Linked DNA regions of Homo sapiens: all the other regions are linked to region 2. Evidence: promoter capture Hi-C in human tissues and cell types (Jung and others, 2019). All regions are on one chromosome and are shown on one strand. The core of a region is centred on a gene start or on the middle of the fragment in contact, and the rest is flanking DNA. Distances in the headings are between cores, read along the strand shown. Region 1 overlaps ATRIP (ATR interacting protein). Region 2 holds the start of P4HTM (prolyl 4-hydroxylase, transmembrane). Region 3 overlaps DAG1 (dystroglycan 1).

What was found. The method cuts DNA at HindIII sites, captures the fragments that hold promoters and counts their contacts. A contact is called where the count stands out against the background at its distance.
Region 1: a contact is called between a fragment that was not itself captured here and the fragment with the promoter of P4HTM in region 2, in 1 of the 25 tissues and cell types used here (dorsolateral prefrontal cortex).
Region 3: a fragment that was not itself captured here is called in contact with the fragment with the promoter of P4HTM in region 2 in 1 of the 25 tissues and cell types used here (aorta).

Annotation. Positions count from the first base shown.
Region 1 is chr3:48,457,699-48,460,398 of GRCh38, forward strand. It overlaps ATRIP (ATR interacting protein), which reads left to right. Exons shown (of 13, transcript NM_130384.3): 6 at 1,661-1,756; 7 at 2,089-2,218; 8 at 2,412-2,700. ATRIP-TREX1 (ATRIP-TREX1 readthrough) reads left to right here. Exons shown (of 15, transcript NR_153405.1): 6 at 1,661-1,756; 7 at 2,089-2,218; 8 at 2,412-2,700. Among named protein-coding and RNA genes, the nearest start is that of TREX1, 7.2 kb to the right of the region's middle. The HindIII fragment of the contact is 6,156 bases long and covers 1-2,700 here.
Region 2 is chr3:48,987,801-48,991,490 of GRCh38, forward strand. It overlaps P4HTM (prolyl 4-hydroxylase, transmembrane), which reads left to right and starts at 2,441. Exons shown (of 9, transcript NM_177939.3): 1 at 2,441-2,810; 2 at 3,033-3,114. The coding sequence starts at 2,457. It overlaps LOC124909376 (a long non-coding RNA gene), which reads right to left and starts at 2,072. Exons shown (of 2, transcript XR_007095903.1): 1 at 1,748-2,072. RefSeq lists enhancers at 1,161-1,724, 1,725-2,287, 2,035-2,194, 2,852-3,413 and a silencer at 2,305-2,684. The HindIII fragment of the contact is 19,056 bases long and covers 1-3,690 here.
Region 3 is chr3:49,526,917-49,530,499 of GRCh38, forward strand. The region is part of intron 2 of DAG1 (dystroglycan 1); the gene reads left to right. Among named protein-coding and RNA genes, the nearest start is that of BSN-DT, 26 kb to the right of the region's middle. The HindIII fragment of the contact is 3,693 bases long and covers 1-3,583 here.

The sequences.
Region 1 (2,700 bases), core at 201-2,700, 530 kb before region 2:
CTAGCAAATCCAGAGAGAGCGAGCCAGGCAGAAGCTATCCATTTATGGCCTAGCCTCAGAAGTCACACAGCATCCCCTCTGCCACATTGTATTTGTTAGAAGCAAATCACTGAGTCTGGGCGTCATTCAAGGGGAGAAACCAAGCTTATACCTTTTTTTTAATTTTTATTTTTTATTTTTATTTTATTATTATACTTTAAATTTTAGGGTACATGTGCACAACGTGCAGGTGTGTTACGTATGTATACATGTGCCATGTTGGTGTGTTGCACCCATTAACTCGTCATTTAGCATTAGGTATATCTCCTAATGCTATCCCTCCCCCCTCCTCCCAAGCTTATACCTTTTGAAGGGGAGTTGTGTCAAAGCATTTGTGGGCCTTTTTTTTTTTTTTTTTGAGGCGGAGTCTCACCCTGTCACCCAGGCTGGAGTGCAATGGCACGATCTCAGCTCACTGCAACTTCCGCCTCCCGGGTTCAAGTGATTCTCCTGCCTCAGACTCCCGAATAGCTGGGATTACAGGCACCTGCCATCATGCTTGTGGGCATATTTTTAAACCATCACAGCATCAATTGACCATGCCAAAAACCTAGCTAGTATGCAGGAATCTGTTTTTCTTTTCTTGTTTTTTTTTTTTTTCTTTGAGGCGGAGTCTCACTCTGTCACCAGGCTGGAGTGCAGTGGCGTGATCTCGGCTCACTGTAACCTCTGCCTCCCATGTTCAAGCGATTCTCCTGCCTCAGCCTCCCGAGTAGCTGGGACTACAGGCATGCGCCACCACACCCAGCTAATTTTTGTATTTTTAGTAGAGACAGGTTTCACCATGTTGGCCTGGATGGTCTCAATCTCATGACCTCGTGATCCACCCACTTCAGCCTCCCAAAATGCTGGGATTACAGGCATGAGCCACCGTGCCCAGCCTCTGTTTTCCTTTTGTAGTCCAGCTTTTGAGTTTTTATAACTCAGTCCAGATTGAGGGGATCTGCTGTTTTTTAGAGAGAGACAATCTAACATCAGTAGGTTTTCAGACTGCTATGTCAGTGTATCTTATAAATCGGATACATTGACCCTCTTCTTACCATCAACCTTTCAAATCCTTGGCCATCATAACACTTCTGAGAAACTGTAGCCCACTTACATTTTTGGCATCTAGCAGCTAAAGGGGCAGTGTACAGTAGTGTTACAAGCAGGCAGTAGAGCCCAGTAGCCTGGATGTGAGTCCCAGTAATGCTGTTAACTGGCTTATATGATTTGGGCAAGTCCTTTAGTCTCTGTGCCTCAGTTTCCCTATATGTAAAACAGACCTAATGATAAATCCTTGTAGGGTCACTGAGGAACAAATGGGCTGATGCGTATAGAGCTCTTAAAACACTGTCTAGCACGTAACAAGCACCATGTCAATGTTAGTGGTCACTGTTTTATCTAATTGCCTCATTTTGAGTGAGGCAAACAGCTTGATTTTCTTTTCCTTTCCTTGTATGAGTTCCTGTTTTACATAAGGAAGGTAAAAGATGCAGGGCTCTTGAGCCGCTTTGGCTCTTGTTTGTTCCAAGTTCGAAGAAGTAGAACAGCGTGTGTTTTAAACTCATTGCATGTAAAAGTTTCTAATATGCCCATGCTTCTGGGCTCAAGTTTTGATTTACATTTTATCACATTTCAGATAGTAAGCCCCACAGTCTGAGAGGTGACTCCATAAAACAAGAAGAGGCCCAGAAAAGCTTTGTTGACAGCTGGAGACAGAGATCAAACACTCAAGGTACCAGAATCCCTGCTTCTCCTGCAGGGGCCTGCATGGCTCTGAGTAATATGCAGAAGAATTGCCCAGGCCTCTGAGAACCGGTGCCCCGGGCAGTCCTTCAGAGAGTCCAGGGAAGTCAAAGTATGTGGCTTAAGCAGAAGACTTTATAAAGTGGAAAGGGCCAAGGGCAGGTATGTCCCAGAGCCTTCCGCACCCACAGGCATCTTCCTGGGGCTTAGTGGCAGCCTAGAGGACAGTTGGCATCCAAAGAATCCTTACTGTTTCCTTCTGAAAGCCACCGAAAAGATCTCCCATGTCAGAACCTTCTAGAGTCATCTTGTCTTCTGCAGGTTCCATTTTGATAAACCTGCTCCTGAAGCAGCCTTTGATCCCAGGGTCATCCCTAAGCCTTTGCCACCTCCTGAGTAGTAGTTCTGAGTCTCCTGCTGGCACCCCCCTGCAGCCACCAGGGTTTGGCAGGTAAGCATAAGACTCCTGGAAAGCTTGTTTGGGAAGGAGCTTCCTGGAAGCAAATTCCTTTCTGGCCCTGGCCAGCCTGAGAAGTCTGTGGGAAGGGCAGGCAGCCTGGAGAATTTGGCAGGCAGGCTGTTTGGGGCTCTTGACCTTATCTCCATCCCACACTTAATCTATTTTTCTTTGTGTTTGTTGCCAGTACCTTGGCTGGAATGTCAGGCCTCAGGACCACAGGTTCTTATGATGGGTCATTTTCCCTCTCAGCCCTGAGAGAAGCACAGAACCTGGCATTCACTGGACTGAATCTGGTTGCCCGGAATGAGTGCTCACGTGATGGAGACCCAGCAGAGGGAGGCAGAAGGGCCTTCCCACTCTGCCAGCTTCCTGGAGCCGTGCATTTCCTCCCCCTTGTACAGTTCTTCATCGGCTTACACTGCCAGGCCCTGCAGGACTTGGCAGCTGCTAAGAGAAGCGGAGCACCTGGGGAC
Region 2 (3,690 bases), core at 1,191-3,690:
AGGCAGAGCTTGCAGTCAGCCGAGATGGCACCACTGCACTCCAGCCTGGGCGACAGAGCGAGACTCCACCTCAAAAAAAAAAAAGAATACAGATCAATAGAAGGCCTGGATTTGGTAGTATGTATTGTCATGGCATCAAAGGGCCAGGCTTTTAAAAGACTGAGAAATTCTGGTTTCTGATGTGGTTGTGAAATTCCCACAGCTGACAGCAGGTGGAGCAGCCCTGCAACCTGCTTGCTTTCTGTTGTCTGGCAATGAGCTATCAGTACCTGTGCTTAGTGGTAGGCCTAGTTCAGGTAATAGGTGTAAGAATGGAGTTCAGGAAAATAGGTTAAGCAAAGTACAGATTTTATGGTGATCAAATTCTAGTTTTTAAAAGGCTAGAGGGGCCGGTCGCGGTGGCTCATGCCTGTAATCCCAGCACTTTGGGAGGCCAAGGCGGGCGGATCACGAGGTCAGGAGTTTGAGACCAGCTTGGCCAACATGGTGAAACCCCATCTTTATTAAAAATATAAAAATTAGCTGGGCGTGGTGGCACGTGCCTGTAATCCCAGCTACTTGGGAGGCTGAGGCAGGAGAATTGCTTGAACCCGGGAGGCAGAGGTTGCAGTGAGCCGAGATGAAGCCACTGCACTCCAGCCTGGGTGACAGAGCAAGACTCTGTCTCGGGGAAAAAAAAAAAAGGCTAGAGGGAAATAGTCTCAACTTCATTCCAGAAAAGGTATGAGAAAGCCATGAGATCCTTGGTAAAATTATGGTTCTGTTGGTTGGTTTATTATATTTAAGAATTTAGGAGATTTGGTCTGGGTGTGGTGCCTTATGTCTGTAATTCCAGCACTTTGGGAGGCCAAGGTGGGTGGAACACCTGAGGTCACGAGTTTGAGACCAGCCTGGCCAACATGGTGAAACCCTGTCTCTACTAAAAATATAAAAATTAGCCGGGCATTGTGGCGGGCACCTGTAGTCCCAGCTACTTGGGAGGCTGAGACAGGAGAATTGCTTGAACCCGGGAGGCGGAGCTTTCGGTGAGCTGAGATCACACCACTGTACTCCAGCCTGGCGACAGAGCGAGACTCTGTATCAAAAAAAAAAAAAAAATTATAATTAAAAAATTAAAACTAAATAATAATAAATAAAAATACAAAAAAAAAAATTGGCCCGCCATGGTGGCGCATGCCAGCTACTTGGTAGGCTGAGGCAGGAGAATTGCTTGAACCCGGAAGGCAGAGGTTGCAGTGAGCCAAGATCGCGCCACTGCACTCCAGCCTGGGCGACAGAGTGAGACTCCGTCACACACACACAAAAAATCTTAGAAGAAAGAGGTGGGCCTGCCCTTGGAGCCCCTGGCCTGCCTTGACTTGAGGGGACTAGAAAATGCAGACTATGCTTTGCTATGGGGAAGGGAGAGGAGATGGGAGTAGAGGTAGTGGGGGTCTTAACCAGGGTAGGGAGAAACCACCAGTGTGACCTGCCTTAAAAGTGTTGCTCTTGCCTGCAAGTCCACCTCGGGGAGGGGGGTCAGCTTCTGCCCTGAGGGCGTGTAGTAATCTCTTCCTGAGGATAACCAGCTCTAGAAGAGCAGGGATGCCTTGGCACTTGACCACTGGTAGGTATGTCCTCCCCCCACCCCCGTTTTTGGTGATAATCTGTTTAATTTTTCTCTGAGGTAATGGTGTCTCAGTTATGGAAGAGTCCCTTCCCGCCTCTTCACACGTGCCAGCTTTGATGCAAGGAGTGTTCCATATACCTGAGCACTGGTTCATTCCTGCGGGCTGCCATGGGGGGCTCACTTTCCTGATGCCAGGGCTCCTCCAGGATGCCCCCTCTGACGGCCTATGAAACCTTGCACATCAGGCAGCTTCTTCCTAAGGCCTGCCTGACTCCGGCGAGACTTCCCGGGAGATCCGGACCGACCGCGGAACCGAGCTCCAAGAATGCCTGCGAGGAGGCTGTGGGTCCTACCCTATCGCCGCTTACGCAGTCCCAGCCTCCGCGGCGCCCCCAAATGCCGCACTGTTGAGTCATCTCAGCGCTGCCTCCTCCGCGCTGCGCTCCCCACCCCCGCTCCTGGAGCAAGAAGATGCAGACGATACTTTTCCCGGAGGCAAGAGGGCGTCTTCACGCAGGCACCGAGAAGCTCCCACTAGTGTATGCCTTAATGGTGCCGCTCTTGTCCGCGTCTACGCTTGGGACCTTGGCTTCTGACTTGGAGAGTGTACAGCTCTGCCCGACGGCAACCCAGCTTGGGAAGAGAAGCCCCAGCGTGGGCTGGGGCTCAAGGCGCAGGAAGGCCGAGCCCGGCGCGGACGCAGGCGGCTCCGGGCGGGCTCAGCACCCCCAGGCACCGTCTCCTAGTGACCGCGGCGCTCGCGGGCCTGGCGGCCGTTGTCCGGGCGACTGCGCAGCGCGGGCACCCCCGCGGCCCCTCCCCTGGGCGCGCGCGCGACCTGGGTGCCATGGCGGCAGCGGCGGTGACAGGCCAGCGGCCTGAGACCGCGGCGGCCGAGGAGGCCTCGAGGCCGCAGTGGGCGCCGCCAGACCACTGCCAGGCTCAGGCGGCGGCCGGGCTGGGCGACGGCGAGGACGCACCGGTGCGTCCGCTGTGCAAGCCCCGCGGCATCTGCTCGCGCGCCTACTTCCTGGTGCTGATGGTGTTCGTGCACCTGTACCTGGGTAACGTGCTGGCGCTGCTGCTCTTCGTGCACTACAGCAACGGCGACGAAAGCAGCGATCCCGGGCCCCAACACCGTGCCCAGGGCCCCGGGCCCGAGCCCACCTTAGGTCCCCTCACCCGGCTGGAGGGCATCAAGGTGAGGACCTCCCTGCCCCGCCGCGCTCCAGGCCCTGCACGGCTGAGCCCGAGAGGACCGGCGCTCAGCCCGGGTCCCCACGCTGCCCCCGGCGCTGCTCTGCGTCGGTCCCGCGCGCTCCCACTCACTCGCCTGCTGTCGCTCTCCGGGCCGGGGCGACTTGGCCCTTCTTGGGCAGCGCGGTCTGGCGCCCCAGCTGCCCGCTGTGCGCCTTTTCCTTAGGTGGGGCACGAGCGTAAGGTCCAGCTGGTCACCGACAGGGATCACTTCATCCGAACCCTCAGCCTCAAGCCGCTGCTCTTCGGTAAGTCCGCCAGATACTCCTGGGAAGGGCCAGGGGCTGCGGTTTGGTGGCCACCTTGAGGCTCGTTGTGACCACGTGACCTCTATTTTGAAAATGGCTGCTTCAGAGCAGCCCTTCCAGAGGATTACCAAAGTGAAGGACCTTCCCCGTCCTCGAAATAGGGTAACACTCCCTCTTATCCCAACTCCCTGCAGTCCATTCTTCCATCACAGGGCTGGCAGGGTGAGCCTGAGGCTGGTGTCTAAACGTTTCATTGCACCTGTCTTCCGTGCCACCATTAATTCTGTCACCTTCTAGAACTGGGAGGAAGGTGGGAGACTGATAACCAGCTTTCTGCCGACCTCAGGACCTCTGGGGAAAATCCCACTGCCGAAGTGGGCCTTGTGGTCTGATGAGAAGCAGGCCGTCCAAATGTAGATAAACTGGTACCCCCCCAGCCTCCTCCACTGGAGTACCAGTCAGAGGCTCAGCTTTTGCTGCCAGCACTCTGAGATTCTTCTTAAGGTGAAGTCTTTGTTCAGCCATCATGGGCAAAGCTTTCTAGGGTGACTCCAGTTGGAGCCACAACATAGCTCA
Region 3 (3,583 bases), core at 535-3,034, 540 kb after region 2:
AAAATAAGTGTATGGCTTTCAAGGATGGCTTCGCTGTGGGAGCCTTCCTATAGAATGGCCTGAGTTTGTTCTGTAGGAACTGCCTGATAGCAGAACTTTGGCTGTTGGGGTCAGCAGAATAGGAAGTGAGCCAGGCTGGGAAGCCTTGAGAAGGCAGGGCCCTTCTCTATTTTCTGTTAAAAAGTGCCCTTGTGGCCGGGTGCGGTGGCTCATGCCTGTAATCCCAGCACTTTGGGAGGCCGAGGTGGGCAGATCACGAGGTCGGGAGATTGAGACCATCCTGGCTAACACAGTGAAACCCCGTCTCTACTAAAAATACGAAAAATTGCCGGGCGCGGTGGCTCACGCCTGTAATCCCAGCACTTTGGGAGGCCAAGGCGGGCGGATCACGAGCTCAGGAGATCGAGACCATCTTGGCTAACACGGTGAAACCCCGTCTCTACTAAAAATACAAAAAATTAGCCGGGCACGGTGGCGGGCGCCTGTAGTCCCAGCTACAGGAGAATGAGGCAGGAGAATGGCATGAACCCGGGAGGCGGAGCTTGCAGTGAGCCGAGATAGCGCCACTGCAGTCCGGCCTGGGCGAAAGAGCGAGACTCTGTCTCAAAAAAAAAAAAAACCAACAAAACACGAAAAATTAGCCAGGCGTGGTGGCGGGCGCCTGTAGTCCCAGCTACTTGGGAGGCTGAGGCAGGAGAATGGCGTGATCCCGGGAGGCGGAGCTTGCAGTGAGCCGAGATCACGCCCCTGCACTCCAGCCTGGGTGATAGAGTGAGACGCTGTCTAAAAAAAAAAAGTGCCCTTGTATAGTTGAAGACAGACTTGGAGAGGCAACAGGTTGCTGACTTATCAACACTGATGGAGCGCCTAGCCACTCAGGAATGTCCCATGGTTCTAGCCAGCCATTTGGCTCCCTTCTTCTAGTCCCTCTCAACCTTGTTCAGTCTCCTCTGCAGTTGGCTTCTCCTTAGTTGGCTTTACCCAGACCTCTATTCCAGGCCTTCCCTGTCACCTTTCTTCATCCTCCCTCTGCCATGTGAGCTCGTGTCCTACTGGTGGCCATTGGGATGGAGTAGAGTTAGGAAATAACCCTCAGGTGACCAAAAACCGGGGTCCACACCCTAATTCACCTACTCTCCACCTCTCAGGACCCCTACTTCTATCCCACTCCTGTAAAACATCTCATGGGCCTTACTTATTTGCTTCATGGTGGTTTTTTGTTTGTTTGTTTTTGCAAAACAAGAGCATTCAACCTTTATTTTATGTGTTTATATACGGATGTGGCAGTTTTATTTAATATAAATGAACTGAAAAATGTAAAGCTTAGATTTTTCAGCCAAAACATTTGAAATAGTGTGATTTTTTTTTTTTTTTTTTTTTTTTTTTGGGACAGAGTCTCACTCTGTCATTCAGGCTGGAGTGCAGTGGTGTGGTCTCCGCTCACTGCAGCCTCTGTCTCCTGGGTTCAAGCCATTCTTGTGCATCAGCCTCCCGACTAGCTGGGACTACAGGTGTGCACCACCATGCCTGGCTAATTTTTGTGTTTTTAGTAGAGACGGGATTTTGCCATGTTGGCCAGGCTGGTCTCAAACTCCTGACTTCAAGTGATCCACCCGCCTCAACCTCCCAAAGTGCTGGGATTACAGGCATGAGCCACCACGCCCAGCCAATAAGTGTGATTTTTATGGTTAAAAAATATTTTTAAAGAAAAATATATTTAGCATTTTTCATGAATTTGAAGACACCCATGTTTACAGATGTTTTAACATTTCTGATGTTTGATGGTGAGTGACAGGGTGGGAGATTCTTAATTAGATGATGGCACATCTTAGAGTTGATGCAATGTGGTATCACAAAAGAAACACTATTTGCTAACCCTTAATGAGTGGCTCAGAGAGCAATTAGGAAATGATAACCCTGATAATAATAACGCCTTTTTTTTTTTTTTTTCTGAGATGGAGTCTCACTCTGTCACCCAGGCTGGGTTGCAGTGGCGTGATCTCAGTTCACTGCAACCTCCGCTTCCCAGGTTCAAGCAATTCTTATGCCTTAGCCTCCTGAGTAGCTGGGACTACAGGTGCCTGCCACCACATCCGACTAATTTTTGTACTTTTAGTAGAGATGGGGTTTCGCCGTGTTGGCCAGGCTGGTCTCGAACTCCTGACCTCAGGTGATCTGCCCACCTTGGCCTCCCAAAGTGCTGGGATTACAGGGGTGAGCCACCATGCCTGGCCCAATAATAATAATTCCTAACAATGTCAGTAATCTCATGGTTAAAAAAAATTTTTTTTTTGAAATAGAGATGGGGGTCTCACTGTGTTGGCCAGGGTGGTCTCTAATGCCTGCTGGCCTCAAGCAATCCTCCCGCCTTGGCCTCCCAAAGTACTGGGATTATAGGTATGAGCTACCATGCCCAGCTTTCTCATACATTTTTGCTGGGTGTAGGAAACCTGTTTAAATTAGTTTAAAGGGGGGAAATTATCTAGTTTCTGATAAGGCTGCTGCCTGGACACCTGGGTACAAGCCTGGGGTCTCCTTTCCAAATCACTCAAGTACTTTGTTTTTTGGCAGGAGGAAGCCCAGGGAACCAGAGGCACTGGGGAATCCAGCAGTCAGTGGCTTTAGCTTTCCTGCCACAGGGAGGGGGAAGCATTTTAGGGTCCCCCTATTGATAAGCAGTGGTCATGAAGGGCAGTCCTAAGCTGAGTCTGGGAGTGTGATGTACTGTGTTTTGGCCAATTTGTCTCTGGTACTTGTTATAGGACAATGGAGATGAGAGTGCCTTCAGGCCAACCAGAGAATGGGGGGTGTCACTTTTCTTGCATTGGGGCAGGAGTAGGTGTTTCCCAAAAGTGAAAGGAGCCACAGATGGGGCTGGGGCAAGAGCTAAGTCATATTTTCCTCTTGTCAGCTGTTGGTGGAGGTTTCTATGGTGGCATTTCCTTGGGTGCTCTGAGTATGACCAGTTATATCTCTGTGGAAAGGGACTTCCACAACAAAAGAAGTCTGGGAGATGCTGTTGAGTTGGAATAAGGTGATGAGCTCCTTAGGCCTGCTTCTGTGCCTGGTCTCTCCAAGGGCAGAAGAGGTCTCTGTGTATTTCCTGTACTTGATTGACTGTAGAACCTCTCTCTTTTAGAGAGACCAGAGCTCCTTGGGATTCCTTTAGTAAGCACTATTCTAGAATAGTTGATTCTAGTCTCTGCTCCCTGGGTACCACAGTTTGTCTTGAGATTTGAGAAGCAGGGTAAATGAAAACATTAGATACAACTAACTCTCTTTGCTACACAAATGTGCCCCACTACACTTGAATGTAACGTGATGTTGTAATGTGAGTCCTTCAGAGCGTTGAGCCTTCCCTTGTACCCAGACCTGTGTGCATCTCCACTTTGGGGCAGGAATGGTCCTCCAGGCCAGGCATGTGACCTGAGCAAAGATGTGGTGTCTGCAGAGGGCCGGGGAGAAGTCTGAGGCAAGGGTGGAAAGGAATGCTGAGGGCTGGAATGTGACTTGATTCTTCAGGTAGAATGGGCAAGTAGGTGGCAGGGCGTGTCACTGTTATAAAATCCACAACAGTCGTGAG